3 separate regions of the Homo sapiens genome follow, and regions 1 and 2 are each linked to region 3. The links are contacts of gene promoters, found by promoter capture Hi-C in blood cells and fetal thymus (Javierre and others, 2016). All regions are on one chromosome and are shown on one strand. The core of a region is centred on a gene start or on the middle of the fragment in contact, and the rest is flanking DNA. Distances in the headings are between cores, read along the strand shown.

Region 1 (3,069 bases), core at 304-2,803, 340 kb after region 3:
ATAATGGCTGGAGTTATCCTTTCCAACAACCCAGCAGAATGGGGACTTGCAGTCATAACTCAAGTTGAGTTCTAGGAAATAAAAAAAGATCTCTTACATATCTAAATTTGAGGATAGAGATTCTTACCAGATACATGGAACTAACAAGTCTGGGTTTTGTTTATTAGTTTTTTATTTTTTAACAGACTTCCTCCTTCTTCTCTCATCCTTTCTTCTCAGTTTCTTCCCAATCGTCACACTTGAAACAGTAGGGCCTAAAGCCACCTATTTGGTATGCCTGTAAGGATGGCCCTGTGGATATAACCCAGGACTTACTATTCCCCCCAAATTTGCTCTTATGTACTAAAATAAGCATATGTCAGGAGCTATCTCCTCCCTGCAAAGACACATGTACCTTTCTGTACTTCACTGGCACGTCTGGGATGTTTGCCAGTGCGTTCATTTTTCTGTGCAGAGTTGTCCATGTTAGCAAAATTCTGTGACGTGTTCCATTTGTTTGATGAAAAGTTCTACTGCATGTTCTCCTAAGCACCTGAAACAGCAAAACACAGCATTTGTAGAGATCATTTCACATTGGTTAATTATTGCAAATGGGTTCTGTTCTATCTACAGGGTAAACTGAGAAATGGTGTGGGTGCCGGCTGAGATCTACCAAGTGCAGTGACCCAAAGTCCCAAGCACATTGTGCTGGTGCTGCCTGCAGTAGGAACTGCGTAAGAAGTCACTGTTGATGTTGCTTACAGAACTACTGAAGGCTTGGATTTTATTTTTATTTTTTATTTTTTGATACGGAGTTTTGCTCTTGTCACCCAGGCCGGAGTGTAATGGTGTGATCTTGGCTCACTGCAACCGCTGCCCCTGCCTGGGTTCAAGTGATTCTCCTGCCTTAGCCTCCTCAGTAGCTGGGATTACAGGCGCCCACCATCTGTAATTTGTATTTTTAGCAGAGATGGGGTTTCACTATGTTGGCCAGGCTGGTCTCGAACTCCTGACCTCAGGTAATCTGCCTGCCTCTGCCATCCAAAGTGCTAGGATTACAGGTGTGAGCCACCATGCCTGGCCTATTTTTATTTAAATTTAGCTTTACTGAGACATAATGTATACACAAATAAAATTCATCAGTGTTAGTTGTACAATTCCAAGTTTTGGCAAATGTTTACAGCCAAGTTAAATACCACCACAATTAAGATATTAATTTATCTATGATGCTGAGAAGCTCCCTGTGTCCCTTTGCAGTCAGCACCCTCCCAACCACTGCTCTGCTGTCACAATTGTTGCCTTTCTAGAATGTCACAGAAATGCAATCATAGACACTCTTTTTTCACTTAGTGTAATGCTTTTGAAATTCTTCCATATTGTTGCATAGATCAGTACTTTGTTCCAGTTGTTCTACATCCTCACCAACATGTGTTTGCTCAATCTTGTTAATTTTAGGCATTCTAGTGATTTTATAGTGGTATCTCATTGTCATTTTAATTTGGATATTTTCATGTGCTTATTTATCTTCTTTAGTGAAGTGTGTTCAAATCTTCTACCTTTAAAACAAAAAAATTGGGGACAGCCATTGTGGCTCACACCTATAATCCCAACACCTTGGGAGGCTGAAGCGGGAGGATTGCTTGAAGCGAGGAGTTTGAGACTAGCCTAAGCAACATAGTGAGACCCCATCTCTACGAAAAATAAAAAATTAGCCAGCCTGTAGTCCCAGCTACTCTGGAGGCTGAGGTGGGAGAACTGCTTAAGCCCAGGAGATCAAGGCTGCACTGAGCCATGACAGCACCACTGCACTCCAGAATGGACAACAGAGCAACAGCCTATCTCAAAAAAAAAAAACAAAAAAAAACAAAAAAACAAAAAACCACAAAACCCAAAAACAATTGGATTTAATTGGGTTATTTATTGAGTTGTACAAGTTAATACATCTGGATACAAGCCTTTTATCATATATGTTTTGAAAATATTTGCTCCCCGGCTGAGGTTTGCCTTTTTATTTTCTTAACACTATCTTATGAATGCAAATTTTTAAATTTTGATCAAATTTGTCAAAATTTTCTTTTAAGGTTTTAAGATTTCTTTTGTCAGATCTAAGCAATTTTTGCCTAACTCAAGGTCACAAATATTTTCTCCTACATTTTCTTTTAGAAGTTTTATAGTTTTAGCTCTTACATTTAGGCCTAGGATCCATTTTGAATTAAACTGTGTATACAGTATTAAGGTAAGGGTCAGGTTCATTTTATTTTCATTTTATTGCATTTGGAGATTCAATTAATCCAGCACCATCTGCTAAAAAGAATACCCTTTTTTCACTGAATTATCTTGGCACACTCATCAAAAATCTACTGTGTGTATGTGTTTATTTAGATATACATAGTGCTATTTCTAGATTCTCTATTCTGTTCTTTTGAACTCTGTGTATATCCTTATACCAACAGCTCACTATCTTGCTTTAGAGTAAGTTTTAAAATCAGGTAGTTCCAACTTTGTCTTATTTTTCAAAATTATTTCGACTATATTAGCTCTTGTACTAGCCCTTTTGAATATAACTTACAGGTCAATTTCTACTAAAAGAAAAAACCTCCCTGGATTTTGATTGAGATTGCATTGAATCTATAGAACAATTTAGGGAGAATTTACATCTTAACTTTGTTGAGTATTATGTTCCATTAATATGGTATACTCTCCATTTATTTTGATATTATTTAATTTCTCAGCAATATTTTACAGTTATCAGTGTACAAATATTGCATATATTTTCTTAAACTGATTCCTAAGTATTTCATATTTTATGTCAAAAAAATGGTCTTAAAATTTTTTAAATTTCTCATTGTTTATTGCTGGTATAGAGAAATATAAGTAATTTATATATATTAATGCTGTATCCTGCAACTTTGCTAAACTTTTTTTTTCAGTTCTAGTAGCTTTTTTGTCGATTAGGAATTTCTACATATATAATCATGTTGTATGTGAATAAAACATTTTATTTCTTCTTTTCCAATTTGTATGCCTGTTATTTCTTTTTATTGTAATACTGCAATGACTAGGGCATCCAGTACAATACTGAACAGAAGT
Region 2 (3,150 bases), core at 20-2,519, 490 kb after region 3:
TAATTCCAGTACTTTGGGAGGCCAAGGTGGGAGGATCGCTAGAGCCCAGGAGTTAGAGGCTGCAGTGAGCCGAAATCCCGCCACTGCACTCCAGCTGGGGCAGGAGAGCAAGACCCAGTCTCCATAAAATAAAATGGGTTGGGAGCAGTGGCTCATCCAGCACTTTGAGAGGCCAAGGCTGGTGGATCACTTGAGGTCAAGAGTTGAAGACCATCCTGGCCAACATGGTGAAACCCTGTCCCTACCAAAATATATATATACATACACACACAAAAAAATTAGCCGGGTGTGGTGGCATGTGCCTGTAATCCCAGCTACTCGGGAGGCTAAGCCAAGAGAATCGCTTGAACCAGGAGGCAGAGGTTGCAGTAAGCCGAGATTGTGCCACCACACTCCAGCCTGGGCTGCAGAGTGAGATCCTGTCTCAAAGATAAATAAATAAATAAATACTACCTTGGAGTTTCCTATAAAAATACGTGTTTTCTTCCTATAAAAATCTTAGTTCTTAGCTGAGGAGAGTTTGAAAGCATCTCACAGGCACTGAGCGGCAAGGCAGTCGGCCCAGATGCAATCACTTTCTGGAAATCAATTGAAAATAGAACCGGGAAACCAGCCTCCACTCCTGATACTGTTACTAACCTGCTATAAGACTTTGTGCTCACCTTTGCTTCCTGGGCCTCAGCTTCCCTGTTTCTGAGAGAAGAGATCCCCTCTCCGAGATCTCTTCCCGCTTTCTATAAATATTGATTGAGTACCCGCTGCCTGCCAGGGATATCGCCCTGGGCTCCTGGGATACAGCTGGAATCTCGACAGCCTGGGGAGGAAGGAGCCTTTGATCCTACAGCGGCAAGAGTTCTTGACACTTGCCGGCTGCCAAGCCTGTTTCCTCCCGGTCTAACGTTCTGTGGTTGTCTGAATCTCCAGCTGCCCCTCAAAACCTTCAATCAGATTAGCGCCGTGCTCCTTTAAAGACCCTACTCAAAGTGCCTGGAGCTCACCTGGGTGTGTTTGTGAGGCCCTTTCCCTCTCTTTACCCCGCGGAGGAGTCCGACCTGGAAGCCTCCTGCTGGACTTCTCTACTGGACTGAGTGCCCGGGAGTGCCAGAGCCAGTCCCAAAAAGGACCCAGGAGCGGGGACACCACGGGGAGGCGCCGCCACTCCAGTGTGCGGGACCCTGGCACCCCCGGCGCGTTCTCCGGCCTCCCCAGGATCACCTGCACGGGGCGGGGCCGGGGGCGGGACGCCCCGGGCGGGGGCGGGATCCCAGGGTGGCAGCGCCGGGCGGCGGCGGGGACCCTGGCTGGGAGCGCGGCGGTGCCGGCGGGAGGCCGAGCGGGGCTCGACAGAGCAGGTAGGAGGCGCCTGGTCGCCGGGGTTGCCCGGGGCTGCGGGGAGCGAGGAGCGGTCCGGCCCAGGTGCGGTGGCTTCCTGTCCACCTGCCGGCCGCGCTGGGCGAAGGAGGGCCCGGGGGTGGGGACGAGGGGTCCCCAGTCTCACCCCCACATCTGTTGGAGGAAGTGCCTGGGGTCTGCGCGGGAGGGCGTTGGTCCGGGGTGGTGGGAGGGAGGCTGATCATCTCCAGTGGGTCTTGGAGACGAGGTCGTTTCCTTGTCCCCTCCCCACCCAAGCATCTGGCGGAGGGGCCGAGGCTCGCTGGAAGAAAAGGGAGTCGACCTTGACCCGGCCTGGAGATAAAGGAACTTTTACCCACTTGGGGCCTTATCCGCCCCATCTGTTAAATGGGCGCCTTGATGGGTCTGCCCTATGCAGAGGCCCCTCCGGAAGATCTGCGATTCAGCGAGATGAAAACCCACGGCAGAGAAGGAGCCCAGGGCCGTAGTTTCCATCCACAGCACGTTTGGAGGGGCTCGGGGGTCGCTCATCCAGCAGCGCTCCTGAGGAAGGATGCAGAGACGGCTCCAGTCCTCTGGGTATCCTTGTGGGAGGAGATGGCTGTGTCAAATATGAAGGCTGGATTAGAGAGACCAAGGCAGCCCTTGAGTCTGGGAGAAGATTCTGGAAGGCCCCTTGGAGGAGGTGGCATCTGAGTGGGGCAGGGAAAGGAAAGGTGGTGGTTAGGGCAGCGCTTTGGAGTCCCTGCTTTACCCCTCAGCCAAGGCCGTCCAACAGTCTCGGGCAAGTCCACACTTTTCTCTATGTTTCAGTTTGATGTGCTCCTTAAATGAAACAATTTCTCTGACAGATTAAATCAGATAACTCATAAAGTGTTTAATACAGGGTGGGTATATAGTAGGCACTCAATGAACATGAGCTATTAATGTCTGCTAGCAGCTGCTTGGGGGCAGGGATGATGCCTATTTGGTTCACCCTTGTATCCCCAGCACCAGCACGGTGCCCAGCATGCAGTAGGTCTCAATACATATTTGTCCAATGAATGAATGAATGCATATGAAGTACAATGCTTGGCACAAATAGTGAATTTACAGATGGCTGGTTCTAAGAGGTGGGTATGGATACTAGAGACAGTGGTCTAGGTGGATGGAACAGTTATAAGCAGAAGCCAAGAGCAACAGATTATAGGCACCCCCTCTTATGGTGCATGTGTGTATGTGTGCATGTGTGTGTGTGTGCGCTTGTGTGCATGTGTGTGCATGTGGGTGTGTGCACGTGTGTGCGTGTGTGTGCGTGTGTGTGTTGGTGGTGGTAGTAGAAAGTGACAGGCACAGCCAGAGCACCGGGATAGAAGAGGGCACATAATACCCTGGAATCCTGAGTCCCATCAGCCCGTGGGAGTGGATGATGGGGCAGGAACTCTAGGTAGGCCAATACCTTTACTCATGTCCTCTAAGTGGGGAGAGGGGACAGAAGGGCAGCCAAGAGACACCAAAGGACCATGAATGCCTGGTGGGAGGGGAGGAGGAAATGGGAAGGGGGTTCCCATGACCCCTTCATGGCCTGTGGCTTTCTTCACCTTGTCCCTGCTGGGCTCTGTGCTGGCTGGGGCCGAGATGAGCTGTGGGGAGGCAGCATGGTGCCAAGCCAGCCAGCCGCGGCGCGTGCGGTGAGCTGGGCATATAGTGAGCTGGGCTTGAGGAACTGGCTGGGCTCTGTGGGAATCTAGTGTAGTGGTTTCCTATCAACAGCTTATCCCCTGGGCCAGTTCCTGGGCTCCGTAGCACCATGTGGAC
Region 3 (3,077 bases), core at 38-2,537:
ACTCCTAGACTGTTGGGGCAGGAAGGAGGCGTTGAAAGAGCATCCCTTCCAACCCGCTCATGTTGCAGATGAAAGCTGAGGTCAGAGAGCGACGGGGGCTAGCCCAAGCCTGCACAGTCATTGGCAGGGCCAGTACTGGAGCTAAAGAAAAAAATCAGTAATACTGATTCTGTCTCTATTGAAAATTTGGGGGCTTTAATAGTTTTTTTGCATTAATTTTGATTTTTTAGAATATTGCATACAATATTATTTATCTTGATTACTGAGTTTTTTGGTGCCTCTTAAATTTTGTGCTCAGGGCCTCACTTGCATCAACCTAGCCTCGGCCCTGCCCTGACTCCCAGCCCAGAGCTCTTGGCCCTCCCTGGCTTGCAGCCAAAGGAGAAAGTGAGCCCTGAAGCTGGAGCCACACTTGCCTCTTCAATGCAGAGAAGTCCCGTTCCCGTCTCTGGGTCATACTGACCATCTGGCATCTCTGCCCTCTGGAAGAACCACTGAAAGCGAGTCTCCTTCTTGGTGTTGGTCACCTGGGGAAGGTGGGGAATGAGGAGACTCTGTCAGGCTTGTTTCTTTTTGAGTAAAAACACACCTGTGCACACTTTCAGGCATCTCAGTGGAGTCCTTTCACATACCATGTGTCTCCTCTGCTGGCCTCTGGACTCTGAATTCTTGCTAATGGTTTTCCCTCTGCCTCTTGATCCCTGCCTTACTCTATTTTTCTTGGAAATGTCCATGTGCTTCAGTTAAATGTCATCTCCTCCAGGAAGCCTTTTTTTTGAAGCATCCCATAGTCACCCCCTCCATCACGATTCATCAATGTCCTGCCCCATCCGGGTCAAGCATGAGGGATGCTGTTTTCCAATGGTCCTGCCTTGAACATGGGCTCCCAAGGCCCACAGAGACCACTTCATCATCTTTGTACGTTCAGTACCGTGCAGAGTGGCACAAAATAGATGCTCTGAGTTTACTGAATGAATATGCTTCTGGGAGAGCACCCACCCTCCCCTTCCCCAGTTATCTAAACAGGCTGAAGAGTGCTAAGAAGGACCTTAGGCTTTGGAATCAGATAGACTTGTTCAAACCTGGGCTCTCCCTCTTACCGTGTGGCCTTGAGCTATTTCTCCATTTGTTTTCTCATCTATGAAGTGAGGATAGTAATGCCTGTGTCACAGATGATTGTGAGGCGGATGAAATAATACTGTGAGTCTCTGAGCACAGGGTAATCATAAACACAGGGATACCCCTCAACATATAAACCCTCGTGGGCTCCTAGACCCCCTGACCCCTCAGAACCCCTTCTGGAGCCACTAGGATCTCGTTCAAGGCTGGTCCACCTCACACGAATCCTACCCCATGGGCGCTGGGAAGGTGGGTTTGCTTTTTGGGTTACGTGTGGTCTCCTCGGGGGTACTTTCTGTGTGTGCGATCAGCCAAGCACAGAGTATGGAATTTAGGGGGCCGGGTGGGCAGGGACAGCAACTGGGCTTGGGGACAAGCCACAGGTCCCCCTGCACTGGGCCTGGGGGCAGGGCAGGGCAGGACTTGCCTTGCACGTCAGCTGCACTTGGCAGTCCTCCGTGACCTTCCACTGCAACGGCCGCTCAAAATAGGGACCTGTGCGTGCAAAACAAATGTGCCCACTGTCAGAGAGCCAGGCTCAGCCAGGGTGCCACCTGTGTCCAGGCAGTGCTGGGGGGAGGGACAGCTAATGGCTATGGACTTCTCAGATGCTGCCTCTGCCAGGGCTGGGACTGGGGTGAGGCAGGGGCGGTGCTCAGAGCGCAAATTTCTTTCTTTCTTTCTTCCTTCCTTTCTTTCTTTCTTTCTTTCCTTCTTTCTTTCTTTCTTTCCTTCTTTCTTTCTTTCTTTCTTTCTTTCTTTCTTTCTTTCTTTCTTTCCTTCTTTCTTTCTTTTTCCTTCCTTCCTTCCTTCCTTCCTTCCTTCCTTCCTTCCTTCCTTCCTTCCTTCCTTTGTTTCCTTCCTTCTTTCTTTCTTTCTTTATTTTTGAGACAGAGTCTCGCTCTGTTGCCTAGGCTAGAGTGCAGTGGCGCAATCTCGGCTCACTGCAAGCTCCGCCTCCTGGTTTCAAGGATTCTTGTGGCTCAGCCTCCTGAGTAGCTGGAATTACAGGCGTGTGCCACCATGCTCGGCTAATTTTTGTATTTTTCATAGAGATAGGGTTTCACCATGTTGGCCAGGCTGGTCTTGAACTCCTGGCCTCAAGTGATCTGACCACCTTGGCCTCCCAAAGTGCTAGGATTACAGGTGTGGGGCACTGTGCCTGGCTTCAGGGTGCAAAATTTAAGAGGGCTCAGCTCTCACCCTCAGGTCAGGCAAGAGCTATTTTGATCTGGCACTGGGACAGAACTGGACTGAATGACAGTGGACCTCCCTTGGGGACCCAGCAGGGCTGGGGTTCCCATTAATCCGCAGTCCAGCATCTCTAGCACGAACCAGTGGCCAGGGATTTTGAACTTCACCCCAGCAGCTCTTACCCTGTTTTCTCTTCCAGTCCCTTCTCTTAGCATCTGCCTTCCTCAGAAGCTTGTCAAAATCTGTGAACACAGAGGGAGGAACTGGCATGAGCCGAGAGGAGTGTGGGTCTGGAGAGGGGACATGGGGTGGACAGAAGTCGAGGGGGCTGTGCTCAGCAGGCTGCAGAGCCGAGGACTCAGGGCTGCAGGGCAGGCCAGGTGTGCGGGGCAGGGCGGGGCAGGGCTGGGCGGGGCGAGGCTGGGCATGGCTGACCGTCATCCACCAGTGTCAAGGTAATCTGGTTTTTGGCTTTTCCATCTTGGAGTTGAGCGGTGTACGACCCTTTGTCCTCCTCAGACAAGTTCTGGATGATCACTTCCACCAGGCCCTTCTCTCGGTCAAAATTGATTTTGCGGTTCTGAAAAGGACAAACTCCAGAGTCCTTTTCCCTGTTCTGGGAACTTTGTTGTGGGGTACACATCAGAGTGTAGTGGGCTTGGGGGTGGTAAGCACAGAGCTGTCAGCCTTCAGAGACTGGGGCTGGCCGTTGGGTAACCCTCTGCTGCTCCCCCCACACCTAGTCCCCCGGGGTGCTTGAATAA

Evidence for each region. Contacts are between HindIII fragments. The CHiCAGO score rates a contact against its expected background, and 5 or more counts as called.
Region 1: a contact is called between a fragment that was not itself captured here and the fragment with the promoter of MYOM3-AS1 in region 3, in 1 of 17 cell types (M0 macrophages). The highest score is 7.4, in M0 macrophages.
Region 2: the fragment with the promoter of NCMAP here is called in contact with the fragment with the promoter of MYOM3-AS1 in region 3 in 2 of 17 cell types (neutrophils and M2 macrophages); the score reaches 5.2 in neutrophils.

What each region holds. Positions count from the first base shown.
Region 1 is chr1:24,400,925-24,403,993 of GRCh38, forward strand. STPG1 (sperm tail PG-rich repeat containing 1) reads right to left here. Exons shown (of 9, transcript NM_001199013.2): 2 at 395-532. The coding sequence starts at 464. Among named protein-coding and RNA genes, the nearest start is that of STPG1, 11 kb to the right of the region's middle. The HindIII fragment of the contact is 5,003 bases long and covers 1-3,069 here.
Region 2 is chr1:24,554,818-24,557,967 of GRCh38, forward strand. It overlaps NCMAP (non-compact myelin associated protein), which reads left to right and starts at 1,270. Exons shown (of 4, transcript NM_001010980.5): 1 at 1,270-1,352. NCMAP-DT (NCMAP divergent transcript) reads right to left here and starts at 1,207. Exons shown (of 3, transcript NR_109781.1): 1 at 999-1,207. The HindIII fragment of the contact is 15,304 bases long and covers 1-3,150 here.
Region 3 is chr1:24,065,475-24,068,551 of GRCh38, forward strand. MYOM3-AS1 (MYOM3 antisense RNA 1) reads left to right here and starts at 1,288. Exons shown (of 3, transcript XR_001737930.2): 1 at 1,288-1,368. It overlaps MYOM3 (myomesin 3), which reads right to left. Exons shown (of 37, transcript NM_152372.4): 26 at 2,749-2,893; 27 at 2,496-2,555; 28 at 1,547-1,614; 29 at 417-527. The HindIII fragment of the contact is 6,627 bases long and covers 1-2,542 here.